Regions from separate parts of the Homo sapiens genome. Here all the other regions are linked to region 1. The links are contacts of gene promoters, found by promoter capture Hi-C in human tissues and cell types (Jung and others, 2019). All regions are on one chromosome and are shown on one strand. Each heading gives the region's core, a stretch centred on a gene start or on the middle of the fragment in contact. The rest is flanking DNA. Distances are from core to core; before and after follow the strand shown. Region 1 holds the start of ZNF423 (zinc finger protein 423). Region 2 overlaps ZNF423 (zinc finger protein 423). Region 3 has its middle 66 kb from the start of ZNF423.

Region 1 (4,548 bases), core at 1,311-3,810:
ATTTACAACACCGAGTCTCGAAATGCCTCCACTGGTCTCCTGTTCACCTTGCTGCCTTTCTCCTACCAACCTGCTTGAACTGTCTGCTACACATACACACATACACATTTGAGAGAGGCACTCACTAAAAATCATTTCAAGGCTCATTTCATGAAAGGCTGAAGACCAATTCTTGAGTCCTTCTCAGAGATCCACAGAGTGGTTTTAGAACTCGGTTCAAGCAACTTTGAAACACCCACCCATCTGTTCACTGCAAACTGCTCTCCTTTTGCTTTCTGGGTCTCGCCGTCTAACGTAAGGAGGTTTGGAGAAGTGGATTGGAAGTCTAGGTAAGCAAGCTTTGCAAACTCAAAATCAACTGCCTGAGTTAAATAAAACTGTTTTTCCAACCAGAAATTCCAATTCCACATTTTCTTCTGGGTCGCCTCTTAAGTGGCTCCTGAAGGAGTGAGCAGTGAGCCAGGGAAAGAGAAAAGAAATCCAGTATTATTTCAAGCCGTACAGCCCTTCCATCAGCAAAAGAGAAACATCCACCCTTCTTTCCCGTCCTCTTCTTGGAGTCTCTCTTCTGGTTTCCCTGTCCCCCAATCAGAACACCCTCTGAACCCCCAGTTCTGTGGAGCAGGCCAGGCTGTCCCGGATTGGGAGACCAGCCAGGGTGAGGCGAACAAGACCAACTTCTCTCAGGGAAAAGGAGGAGTAGGAACGGGCCGGGCGCTCCGTTTGGACTCAGTTGGTCTCCTTCTAATATGACGGGGAGGATCTCTGCTGGGCCGGGGGCAGTCCCTCCGGGGACTTCAGGAGGACAGAACTGACGAGTGTCTCAAGATCCTCCTTGCCAGATTCAGTTCCAGCCATTCCAGCCAGGCGCAAGGCTGGCAGGAAGGGAGCGGGGCCCCAGCGCCTTCCCGCGCAGGCCTCCAGGAAATGAACTTTTCAGAGCAGAACTGGGCTCAGGCCAGAGGTCATCAGGGGAGATGGGAGAAGACAAGGGCCTGGGGGCTTTTGGCTCCGTAGACTTAGCCGCTCTCATCGTTCCCCCCTTCCTCGATCATCTCCCATCTCACAGCCGAGCGCCCGGGCACCCAACCGAGGGGCTAGAATCGGGACAAAGCAGCAGGCAAGGCCTGGAAAGGCCAGCCGCGGGGAGAGGAGGCCAGGGGAGGGGCTCTGCTGCCGGCGCGCGGCCTTTCCCCGGGGCCTCTACTCTCCAGGGGTCCCCTCGAGCTGGGGGCCCTCGCTGGAAATAGAAAGCAAAGCGTGGAGACGAAGGGATGGGTGTGTGTATCTATATATCTGCAGCTCCCCACAAACGCGCGCACCCCGGGGAGCCAGCACAGAAAGCCGGCCTGGGTGTCGAGGGTGCCGGTGCCCGGGGTCAGATCCAGGGTGCCGGTGCCCGGGGTCAGATCCGGGGCGCCCTCCGCGGAGGGGCGCGCACCGCGGCCGCTGAGCTCCCCTGAGGACCTGCGTCCCGCCGGCGCCGTGCAGACAATGAACTCCTGGCGGAGGCTCCCTGCCCGGTGGGCCTCGGTGGAGGAGGCAGGAAGTGCAGGGGCCCGGGCCGGGAGAAGGCCTGGGCAGGGGCGGGAGGGGGCGCCAGGCGGCCGGGGCGAGGGCGCGGCGCCCGGGGCGCTCGCCGACAGCGCCCGCCGCTCCCCGCGTCCTCGGGCGACCAGGCAGGGGCCAGAGAGAGCCAGCGAGGCCCGGGGCCAGCGAGGAGCGGTCGGCCTGCCGGGCGCCCGTCCTCGCCGCCTCTTCCTTCCTCCTGTCGCCCGCCCGCCGCCGCCGAGATTCGCAATCCCCGCCAAGTCGGGCCAGCACCCCTTGATTGGCCACACGGGCCCGGGCCCCGCACGGAGGGAGCGGCAAGGGCCCCTTAGCGGCGCCCCCAGGCCTGGGTCCCCCAAGGGCGACGGCGCCGAGTCCGGGCAGGGAGGGTGTCCGCGGCGTACCCCCTCCGCCGCCGCCGCCGCCGCCGCCGCCTCCGCCTCCTGCTCCCGGCTTCCTCCTCCCCCTCCTCCGCCTCCGCCTCCGCCTCCGCCTCCTCTGCCGCCTCCTCCTCCTCCTCTCGGCTCGCTCGCGCGGGTCCCCGGCAGCCAGCCCGCTCGCCGGTCCCTCCTCCCTCGCTCCCTCCCTCCTCGCTCGCTCGCTCGCGCCTCCGCCGGGCCTCGCTCGCTCACCTTTCACCGAGCGCGGCTTCGCCTGCTTCCGCCTGGACATGTCCGGGGCTCCGGGCGCTCCGTCGCCCTCCGCAGCCGGCTCCCCCCGCCGCCCCCCGCCGCTCCGGGCAGCCCTTCTCCCCCTTCTCCTCCGCCTGTCTCTTGGAAACTTTTTTTTTTGCAGCCCGGTTGGCGGCTGTGGGGAGCGGACCGCAGGTCCGGGGCGGCCTCCCTTGGGGGGGCAGCCCGGGCCGGCCGAGGCCGCTCGAAGGCGGGGGGAGGCCCGGGGGGCGCGCCGGGGCCCTGCCTGTTGCAATGCGGCAGTCCGGGGCTCCCGATCCAAGCGGCGGTCCCAGCGGCGCGGGGAGTCCGGAGGCCACTCGGCCGAGCCGAGTTATGCAAAAAAAAAAAAAAAAAAAAAAAAAAAAAAGCCGCCCCCCTCCTCCTCCCAACCCCCCGCCGGCCCCCGGCCCCTGCGGCCCCCTCCTTCCCTCCCCCACCCTACCGCCACCCTCACCCTCCTCCTCCTTCTCCTCCTCCTCCGCCCCTTGCCGGATTTTTGTGCAAAGTTTGCAGGCGTCCGGCCACGCAGCCCGGTGCGGAGCTCACAATGAACCCATCTGAGGAGGGGGAACGGGGCTGGAGTCGAGGGTATCTCAAGGGGGGAGGAGACCGGGAGGCGGTCGGGAGCGCGGAAGCTCAGTACCCCCCAGGAAAAAAAAAAAAAAGAAGCCTTCGAATTATCCCCTGCCGCACAAAAAAAAATAATAAATATTAATGGCTCAAAAATGCCCAAGCGCCTGGTTTGGAGATTATGATGGATGGGGGGCGGGGGTCCCTCAACTCAGCCTACTTGGAGGGGAGGCTCGAAACGGCCGCAGTGGCTCGGAAGCCGCGGCTCGGGGCCCCTGGCTCACGCCCCCTTCTCTGGCTCTCGGATCGGCCCGGCGCCGGCCCCCCGGAGGAGGAAGGGGCGCGCGGGGGCGCTCAGGCGGCGGCCGGCAGGCGCGCCCGTGCCCCGGGCATCGCTCAGCCCGTGCGCCGGGCCGCCGCTGCCTGCCCTCGGGCTGCGGTGCTCAGCGCGAGGCGCGCAGCCGATCCCCAGGCCGGTGCCAAGTCGCCGGCCCCGCTAGCTGCCTCCATGGGCCAGGGGCTCGGAGAGGGGGGAGGCGGCGGCCGCGGTGGCGGAAGAGGAGGACGAGCAGGCGGCGGCGGCGGCGGCCGGGCTCCCGTCCTCCTGGGCAGCGGCGGCGGCGGCTGCGCCCCGGCTCCTCCGCGCTCCAGCCGGCGCCGGCCCGCCCGCCAGCCTCCCTCGCGCTCCTGTCTTCTTTGTGGTCGCTGGCTCTCCTCCTCCCGATCCGGCTGCTGGGGCTGCACTGCAGAGACACATAATAAAGCCAGGCTTGGCTGGAAATGTAGCCGGGTCCCAGCAGGAGGATGTGAGGAGCGGAGTCCCGGCGGGGGAGCGCTCTGATCCCGTGGGGCGCCCCGCACTGCTCCGGCTCGGATCAGACGGAGAGAGGGCCAACAGCACCGAGCGATGGACAGCGCTGGAAATACAGCTCCGGCCGCCCGCAAAACCCGGACCGTGGTGGCGGCGGCGGCGGCGGCGGCAGGCACGGCGCGGGCGCGGGCACCGCACCAGCACGCGGGGCCGGGGCTCGGGCGCTGGCTGCACCGGGGGCAGGAGGAGGGAACACACTTAGGGCCCACGCGGCTGTCAAGCTCGCCAAGACGCATGAGCCTCACAAACTGTAAAAAGTGAAAGAATGGGGGAGCAAACGGAGTTGGGCTGCCCTAGTATTGCCACCTCGCGATGTATGCCTCACGCACATGAACTATCCAGGGACCTGGCTCTGCCAGGTTGGCTTTTGCCCACCGGTCGGTGTTCAAAGACCACCCCTGCCCCACATCCAACAAATTCTTCCACCACTGGGCTAACCCCGTGCGCCCCCTACACCCTTATTTGTAGAATTCTCGCGCCTGGTGTGCACTTCCTCTGTCCGACTGTAAAAGGAACACCTTACCCCTGAGACCTTGCAGGAGCACCCCCTCCCCGCGCAGTTGTCAGAAGAAATAAACCAGCTGCTACTTTCTGCGAGGTTTTACCCAGCCGCCAGGGGGCGCCGCGCGTCCCCCGCAGCTCCTGAACCGGCTGAGACTCTGGTCTCCGGGCAGGCCCGGGAAGGGTTCTGACTTGGGAAAAGTCTTCCCCAGACGGCTCCCCTAAACCGTTCCTCGGAGCCTCTCCCTCCCCAACTAGCTGCAGGCGGCCAGGTCTCGGGTGGGGAGCGGCCCCGACCTCGCCCCCCTCCCGGGTGAGTGGCGCCACCTTGGGCCGGCGCGCCCCGGAGCCAGGAGAACGGAGCGGGTGCACGGCGCGGCG
Region 2 (4,548 bases), core at 982-3,481, 98 kb before region 1:
GCTCTTCATCATAATTCTTACCAGACATGGCTAATAATGACCCTCTTTCGCTAATGAAAAAAACACACACATGCACACATTGTGGCTGCGGTAATTAAGCCTGTGACGAGTTGAGTTGGAGAGAAATTAGATTTATTTACACGCTGTTCTGTTGCTGATGAAGCACAAGCTATCGGGAAGCTTTCTCATTAACCCTCGTTTACAGGGTGTGTGCTCTTTTGTGCCTCTACGAACCCTCTGTAAATTGTAGTTGGTTAAAAAATAATAATAATTAGCCATTCTTAGAGTGGAGTTTTCTCCTATAACTCTGTTAATCCTCGAGTTACACTGCCCAGATGCTGATGGTAATAAAATGCCCAAAGGACTTCAGGTCTGAGCTGCAGCCACATCAATGCATCAGCCAACAAGTGTTGCCGGAATGCCTGCCACCCGAAGACCCTGTGCTAGGGACCCGGTGGAGTCAGAGACGGCCCTGCCTCGGAGGAGATCATGAAATCTTCCTACTGGAAAGGAACTGGGTGAGTGGCTGATTGAGGCAGAAAGAATGATGCAGGGGCCAGACTGAAAGCCAGGCTGAGTCCAAGGTTCAGGTAGAAGAAATAGGGAGCCACTGGAGGTTTGTGAGTGAGGGAGGGGAGGCAAATGCAGTGTTTAAGCAAAATTAGATGACAGCCCACAGAGATGACTGGAAGGTTTCAGAGACAAGGGTTTTCAAAACGGACTTGCTGTTTTGAATCCTGGGGGCAGCCTGCATCAGCCCAGGCCGCCTATCACCAGTTACGACAGCCTGTGAGGTCTAAGAGGCTCTAAGTGTGTGGCCCACCACTATCTTAATGACAGCTCTCTCTTTGGAGGGACTGTCATTTTATTAAACACACATACAGACATTAAAATGCTTCCCAATTTCAGAAATGTTAGGCAATGACAAAATACACATCTTAGAATGAAAACAGCATGAACATCAAGCGCTTGGAAAACAGCCTTTTGGAAGGCCAGTCCCCGCCACACTGATACGGAATTGGACCCCTCCCCGGAGTTCCAACACTGGCCTAGACAAAGAGCACCCGGACTGCCACAGATGACTCCATGGCACCTTTCAGGGGCATCTTCCCACCAAATGCGTGTCTCGAAAGGTCCCTGCCCATCCCTTAAGCTTGGACCCAGGGAAGCTTCAAGTTGGAAGGGACCTAAGAGACCACCTCATCCAGCCCAGCTCTCACCTGCATGGAAAGGAGGAGGTGGCAACCATCACCACCTCCCAGGGCACACGGGCAAAAAGGCACGGGTCATGGGTGGGCTGAGAACAGGGGGAAGCACCCATGATGAGTTCGGACACTTGTGAGCACCCCTGAGGACAAGTCCATTGCGAGATGGCGGGGGGAAGCCAGCATGCGCGGGGAGGGGCAGACATGAACAGGCCTCAGAACCCATGTCCACATGGCTGCATAATTCCTTGTTTTCTTCTAGAGTGTGTGGCACTTTTAAAAGCCAAAGTCCTGCCAAAAGACAGAAACCCCACCTAACTATAGTGAGAAGTCCCATTTTGTGTCACCAACACACAATAGACAACTGGCCCTGTGCAAGTGTTTTTGTTTTTCTTATAAATTACTTGTCACGATGCACAATGACAGTTATTTCTTTTCCATTACGCTGTGCAATGTTGGGACTGAATCCAACACTCCTGTGTCCTCCACAACAAAGACAAAAAAATAGACTTTTAATCAACGCTTATTTATAAATGAGGCCAAGAATTTCCATTCTCATTTTTTCCTGTTTCCATGTGCTATTGGAGATTCCATAGGTTCGTGATGCTCTTCCTGACTCAGCTTAAAACTGGCTACACCGACATCTCCTACAGTCTGAACTTCTAACAAAGGGAGCCTTCAGTAATGAGTCATAAAACCACTATCCTGTTCCCATGTAGAGAAGATTAGGTGAATAAGGAGGCCAGCCCCCTGCTCCTACCAACAGCAAGGCTTGATCAGCCACCTGCTTGAAGTTAAGTTTCCAGGACATGAGGAGCACCTGCATGGTGAGGACTGCAGAATGCTGTTGACCCAGCATTTGAAAATCACCATAGCCCTCTCCCATAGAACTCACCTGTCAGTAACTTCTAAAATTCAACACATCCCTCAGGCTATTGTGGACACCCAAACCAAGCCAGACACGTGACCACCTGCCTCCAAATCCCCCTTGGGTGGGGTGAGGAGCCCGGCTCAGCAGGAAATACACCCCTGTCATCAATTCTGGTGAAGAAAGGCCTCAAAGACAAACACCCCACGTGCCCTGGACAGCCCCAACAGCAAACTCAGGTTTCCCTGCCGTGGCAGGTGGGAGATTAATTTCCCCCAGTGTACTGAAGGGGAAAGAAAGGGAAAGAAAGAATGACGCACAGGATCTCCTTTCCCCTCATGTTAATCCTCCCCTGACCCGCCCTCGGCTCCTCCCCTCCACACTGTTGGTCCCCCTGCCTGTGGTCACCCTGGTTCAGGACTGCGGTACCTCCTCCCCAGGTGACTGTAAAACATCCCTGGCATCTCCAGCCTCTCATCAAACTCTGAGTGAACACCTGCTAAATGGTAGGCACTTCCTGCCTCGCCTTCACCTGCCAAAGGTAGAAAATGGTTTACCCGGGAGCCTAATCACCAGAAGCTTCCAGATCAGGAATTGTTAGAAAGGAATTTGTTTTTTTGAGACAGGGTCTCGCTCTGTCACCGAGGCTGGAGTGCAGTGGCATGATCTTAGCTCACTACAACCTCCGCCTCCTGGGTTCATGCGATTCTCCTGCCTCGGCCTCCCGAGTAGCTGGGATTATAGGCACCCGCCACCATGCCTGGCTAATCTTTGTATTTTTAATAGAGACAGGGTTTCGTCATGTTGGCCAGGCTGGTCTGGAACTCCTGGACTCAAGTGATCCACCCCCCTCAGCCTCCCAAAGTATTGGGATTACAGGGGTGAGCCACTGCGCCTGACCAAAAGAATTTTTAAAATAATCAGCTGGGCATGGTGACTCACACCTGTAATTCCAGCTACTTGGAGGGCTAAGTAGGGAGAATCGCTTGAAGCCAGGACTTCAAGACCAACCTGAACCACATAGTAAGACCCCATCTCTACAAAAATTTTAAAAAATATCCAGGCATGGTGGCATGCACCTGCAGTCCCAGCTACTAGGGAGGCTGAGATGAGAGGATCGCTTGAGTCTAGGAGTTTGAAGCTGCAGTGAGCTATGATGGCACCACTGCACTCCCAGCCTGGGCGACAGAGTGGTCTCCAAAAAAAGTAAAATAATCATCACTACAAAAAAAAATTACTCCCTCATGTTCCTTAAAGAATGGCACTCCAAGTCTAAATTATAGTGGCAAGGGGTACACACGTGAGTGACAGAACTTTAAAACAAAGCAAGGGTGTGATCACCATAAAAGTCAAGCTAGTGATTCTTTCTGGAAGGAGAAACAGGGATGGGGAACAAGGATAAGCCTTCCGAAGTAGCTTGCAAAGTTCTATTTCTAGACCTGGGAAGTGGTTTCAATGGCGTTCACCTTATAAAAATTCACTAAGTTCTACATTGACTTTGTGGGTTTCTAGATCTGTGTTTCATTTTGCAATAAAACCATATTTTTAAAAAAATAATAAAAGGAAAGCTTGCTGGCTGGGCATGGTGGCTGTGGCTCACGCCTGTAATCCCAGCACCTTGGGAGGCCAAGACGGGCAGATCACGAGGCCAGGAGTTCGAGACCATCTTGGCCAACACGGTGAAACCCCATCTCTACTAAAAATACAAAAAATCAGCTGGGTGTGTTGGTGCACACCTGTAATTCCAGCTACTCGGGAGGCTGGGGCAGGAGAATCGCTTGAACCCGGGAGGCGGAGGTTGCGGTGAGCCAAGATCGAGCCACTGCACTCCAGCCTGGGTGACAGGGCGAGACGCCACCTCAGAAAAAAAAAAAAGGAAAGCTTGCTATCCCCTTGCCTAGGTGCAATGCAACCCAAGAGCCAGCGAATGGCTGCAGGGTGACATCTAGCCAGCCCAGGGTCAACTTACAGATAGGTGCTACAGACCCTAACAGACAACCCTGGCGGGACCACAGCAGCCTCAGGAGCAGCACATACTCATGAAAGTTCTCAGCCAGGAGTGCGCTTTGCAGGGCAATGGCTGTTGAAAAGCATGGAGTTGCACTTCTGCAAATCCAGACACCCTCTGAAACTTCCTGCTTTTAACCCCTGTGACAGCTTAGAGTTAAGATCCCAAAACTCTGGAAGTGTTGTAAGTTTGGAATGTGTTGGGTGCCTAACATTCCAAGTGTAAAGTCCTTTTTTGTGTAATTCCACAACCTCCTTCAGACGTCACAGGAGGTGGCCCTGTCTGTGCAGATGAGACTAGGGTCCCTGCTGCACCTGCCCTTTGGCCCTGGTTCTCTTTAGAGAGATTGCGAGTTGTGGGTGTTCCCCTGGGCTGTAGCTCCAAGGGCCAGGATCACTTTAGACTTGCTTACACTGTAACCCCAGTGCCTAGTGTTTGCTTAGTGAATGGGTGAATGGATGGGTAGA
Region 3 (4,548 bases), core at 1,329-3,828, 67 kb after region 1:
AGCTAGCCAGCTCAGCTCAGTTCCTGCAGGAGGTTCTAGATCTGTAGTGAATGAAGAAAGTGCATTTCAGGGGAGGGAAGGGGGGTGGGGAGTCATGGGCAGATGGAGACCCAAGGTTGGCTCAGATGTCCCTCTTGGATACCCTTGGATTTAGGGTCAAAGCCCCGCTCAAGGTAGGCCTCTGCCGGAGGGAGCAGACACATATGAGGGGCTCCTGAGTTCACATAACACATGTTTGTTGAACACCTACTATGTGCTGGGCACTGAGCTGGGCTTGTGACTGTAGTGACATAAATAAGTGATGATGAGATCTGTGACAGCACTGAGCAGAAGGACAGGACCGAGGGTCCTGGTAGGCAGGGAAGTCCTGTTGCAATAGGCCACATTTTAGCTGACTCTCGAAGGATGAAGAGGAGTTAGCTGCATAGAGTGGGGCAAGAGAGTCCAGACAGAGTATGGCAATGTGGGACGGTCCCAGGGCAAGCCCAGGGCTCCAGAGACTGGACATCCAGGTGGCTGGTTGTGTGTGGAGGGAGGAAGTGGAGAGGCTGGAGGCCACACAGAAACACAATAAACGTCTGGATTTTGCTCTGAGGCTGCAGGAGCCATGGATATGTAACCAGTGGGGTGGGGGGCTAGACACACAGTGGGTCTTGTGCTGAGAAGGGACAGCATGGAGGCAGGACACTTAGGGCAGACACAGGTCCGGGGACTCTGGTGCTGGTACCACTGCCTGGGCAGCAGTGTATGGTGGGATGTGAAAAATACCTGCTATCCTGGAACCTTCCCCGCAGCCCCCAGGGACAGTGAGCCCTGTCCCAGTGGACGAGTGTGGGCTGGGGAGGCTTTTGTGAATTCTGTTGTGGAAATCCATCTTCACCCTGGGAAATCGAGTGCCCTTCAAAGGCCCATGCTGGAGTTCGCCTTAATCTGGGCAGACACCTTGTGGTTGCATGTCCAGCTCATGTCATTTAAAAATTCTCTTTGAGATATCCCAGGGCTGGGGTTGCTTTGTAGCTTAGGAAATCCACAAAGGACTCAATTTCAACAGGGACTGGGCCCATCATGGCACACTGCTGAAAGGCCTGTCCACGAGGAAGCTCCAGACATACCACAGGCCCTCGGCGTCCTGCGACAGCCAACACTGGTGGTGGTGGTGTGTAGCAGTGGGCCATGTGTCCAGGTTTGGGAGGGGAGGCAGTTTCTAAGTGAGAGGCCCCCATCTCCCAGCGCCTCCCACCTGGAACCAGGATGCACAAAGGCATTTAGACACTTGCATCTGTGTCTGTCTTCCATGCGGGACGATTCGGCAGCTCTGGGGGTTTCTGAGGCTGGAAGGACTTCCCTGAGCAGTGGCCAAGCCAAGGGGTGGCTTAGGGGAACGTTTTTGTTGTTGTAGAGACAGAGTCTCCCTGTGTTGCCCAGGCTGGTCTCAAACTCCTGGGCTCAAGCGATCCTTCCACCTCAGCCTCCCAAAGTGCTGGGATTACAGGTGTGAGCCACTGCACCTGGCTGGCTTCAGAAAACTTAAACCCACCTCAAATCTCCACCAGCCCCCTCCAACCCCCTAGTTAAATGTATGGTCCAGGTAAAGACAATGTGCCTGTTCTTCAGCTTCAAAACCAGCCCCAGCCCCTGCTCCTAAGGCAGACTGCCAGCCCCCTAGCCTGTCAAGCCCTCCCCAATCTGGTGACCTGACTAGACAAGCAGTGGGCCTGGGATCCTCTGAGCTAGCCCACACCTGAAGCTTCCGGAGAGCCAAGCCCAGCTGATGGGGGCCCAGCTTGTCCCAAGGTGGTGGAGGTGGTGGTTTCAGCCTGGCGCCTCCACCCCCTCTTGCCTGCCTCCTCACAGACCCATTGTGTCCCAGCTTCAGAAGTCACCGTCTGCCCCCTTCTGGTGGCTGGAAATTCTCAGGAAGCCTCCGATGGCAGGAACTCCAGCACAGGTAATGGGGTGAAGGTGCAGGGCTCCACCACCTCCCTGTGCCCCTCCCCAACCCTGACTGTGGCAATTGGTTGCCCACCTTATCAGGACAGGAGCCACAAAGGTATGCCTTTCACCTTCCCTAAATACTGTCATATACAAGTCACAGAAACAGGATGGAAACGAGGGACATTCTCCACCTTGAATCTTGCGGTCCATTGCCAGGCCAGCCTCCCTTCAGTGACCTATAAATCAATTTAAAAAATAATATGCTAAGTACCCTGGCATAGTTAAATCACACCATTTGTGTGTTAGAAGCATTAATCTGTGAAAGCTATTTATGTAAGTACACTACAAAGGTGGAAATTTGTGTTGATGCTTCTTCATTTTTACCACATAGGAACACTCAAAACTGGAAACAGCCTGGCCTTGCATGCCGCCCAGGACCAGGCACCAACTGAGACATGTAGATGGAGGGGCTTTGTCTCAGAAAGGCCTGGAGCCCAGGACAGAATCTCCCTGTGTTGGCTCTCCGGAAGCTTCAAGTGTGGTCTGGCTCAGAGGATCCCAGCCCCACTCCTTGTCTCATCAGCTCACTGAGTAGGGGCAGGCTGGACAGGCTAGGAGATTGGCAGTCTGCCTTAGGAGCAGGGGCTGAGGGCTTGTCTTGAAGCTGAAGAACAGGCACACCGTCTTTACCTGAACCATAAATTTCACTCAGGGGTTGGAGGGGCTGGGGGAGATGTGAGATGGGTTTAAGTTTTCCTAGGCCAGCCAGGTGTGGTGGCTCACACTTGTAATCCCAGCACTTTAAGAGGCCGAGGTGGGAGGATCACTTGCCCAGAAGCTTGACACCAGCCTGGGTAACACAGGGAGACCCTGACTCTACAACCACAACAAAACTGTTCCCCTAAGCCACCTCTTGGCTTGGCCACTGCTCAGGGAAGCCCTTCCAGCCTCAGAGAGACCAGAGCCTAAAAGCTAGGACCCAGGGCTCTGGGGTGAGCAGATCTGGGCTCAAGGGCAGCCTTCTTCGATGACCAGCTGTGTGGCATTGAGCAACTGACTCAACCTCACTGCGTCTAGTTTGCTCATCTGTAAAATGGAGCCTTCCGGATCCAGTAGCAGGGAGGTTTGGAGGGGATTGCAAGTGTAAAGCACGCAGCTCTGGGCGAAAGCCCAGGGAATAGGAGCAACCTCTGTGAGAGCTCCACATGCTGGCCCTGAGCATGCTTTCACTGTGACACAACGAGGGTTAGACCCACGATCTCTCTGCCATGGACGAGGCAGCTGGAGATGAAAGCCAGGATTTGCCCAAGCAAATAGCCGGAGAGCTGCAGTGCCACGATGCCGCCCTTTACTTTTGGATTCCAAGACCACTGATCTTTCCTCGTCCCATGCCTGCTTTCCAGGTGACTTGGTCTGCTTTCCTTTTCCCATTCAGTTCACAGAGCACCGGGCAAGTGCCAGGTAGGGTGCCCAGGCCTGTAGGGGAGGGAGGACCGATTGGGCTCCAGCTCCCCAGGACTCATATTCTCCAGAAGAGAAGACAGAAAGACAGACGGATGCTCAAGCAGCTGCGTACCAGGTAGGTGCTGCTCAGCACGATCGCCAGGCAAGGCTGCGCAGGTAATGTGGCTCGGAGGGCGTGCAGGTCAGCCCCAGGTGTGGGGAGTCAGGAGGGAGGTCCTCAGGTTCTAGGAAAGAGAGAGAGGCACAGACACAGCCCATTTTCTGACAGAGTTGAGAGTTTGTCTTTCCGGAAGGAGGTGGCTGGCTGCACACGGCCCACTGCACAATTCTTAGAGGATGTCAGTCAAGTGATAAACACCCAGTCAAACAGGATTCAGTATGAAAGGGGGTCGCTGGTTCTAGTATCTGAAAATGCCAGGGTGCGGCTGCCTTCCAGCACCAGGACCCAGGGCCTCAGACAATCATATCAGGAACCTGCTCCTTGCCTGCGCTGTCCTCTGTGTCTTCACTCTCAGGCAGGTTCACCATCCTCTCCCTTAGGTTGTTCCCTACCCGATCCCAGTTCGAGGATGACGTCCTAAGGGTTTGGCAGTCCCACCAGAAAAGGTACATCTGCAGGGTTCCCAGGAAGTCCTGGCAGAAGTCCTGAGGAGAGCTCTCATTGGACTAGCTGGAATCACGGGACCATCCCTGAACCAATCACCAAGGCTAAGCCAACGGAATATGCTGATTGGCCAGGCCCAAGTCACATGACGGCCTCTGTAGCCAGGGCTTGGGAAGTCAGTCCCTGGGGTTGAGATGTTCCAAAGGGCTGTGAACCGAAAATCCCTGCAGAAGGAAACCACACATGTCCACTGCAAAAAGTGGTGTTTTGTTATCCTTGAGTTGTTGTGTGTTCATTTGTTTGGCTCTTTCATGCCTAGAAGTTGATATTTTATGCTCAAACACAGAAAAAAGTACAAGCACCAATTGGCAACCTGTGGACTGAGACCCCTGACACTGGCTGCTTGAAAAAGGCCCCAGGGTGGACAAGAGCTGCACCACTGAATCTCCAATCCCAGAACACCAGGCTTTTGGCCCCATGCAGATCTGGGGCTGCCCAGACACCCATAGCTCCCTGGACAGCCTGGGTCTTAGCTCCTGGCATCC

The links. The method cuts DNA at HindIII sites, captures the fragments that hold promoters and counts their contacts. A contact is called where the count stands out against the background at its distance.
Region 2: a contact is called between a fragment that was not itself captured here and the fragment with the promoter of ZNF423 in region 1, in 6 of the 25 tissues and cell types used here (H1 embryonic stem cells, adrenal gland, dorsolateral prefrontal cortex and 3 more).
Region 3: a fragment that was not itself captured here is called in contact with the fragment with the promoter of ZNF423 in region 1 in 2 of the 25 tissues and cell types used here (H1 embryonic stem cells and mesenchymal stem cells).

What each region holds. Positions count from the first base shown.
Region 1 is chr16:49,853,552-49,858,099 of GRCh38, forward strand. It overlaps ZNF423 (zinc finger protein 423), which reads right to left and starts at 2,561. Exons shown (of 8, transcript NM_001379286.1): 1 at 2,184-2,561. The coding sequence starts at 2,223. RefSeq lists a silencer at 1,805-2,064. The HindIII fragment of the contact is 13,140 bases long and covers 1-4,548 here.
Region 2 is chr16:49,755,465-49,760,012 of GRCh38, forward strand. The region is part of intron 2 of ZNF423 (zinc finger protein 423); the gene reads right to left. Among named protein-coding and RNA genes, the nearest start is that of ZNF423, 98 kb to the right of the region's middle. The HindIII fragment of the contact is 3,131 bases long and covers 667-3,797 here.
Region 3 is chr16:49,920,143-49,924,690 of GRCh38, forward strand. No RefSeq gene overlaps it. Among named protein-coding and RNA genes, the nearest start is that of ZNF423, 66 kb to the left of the region's middle. RefSeq lists an enhancer at 1,464-2,195 and silencers at 2,872-3,055, 4,038-4,210. The HindIII fragment of the contact is 3,414 bases long and covers 872-4,285 here.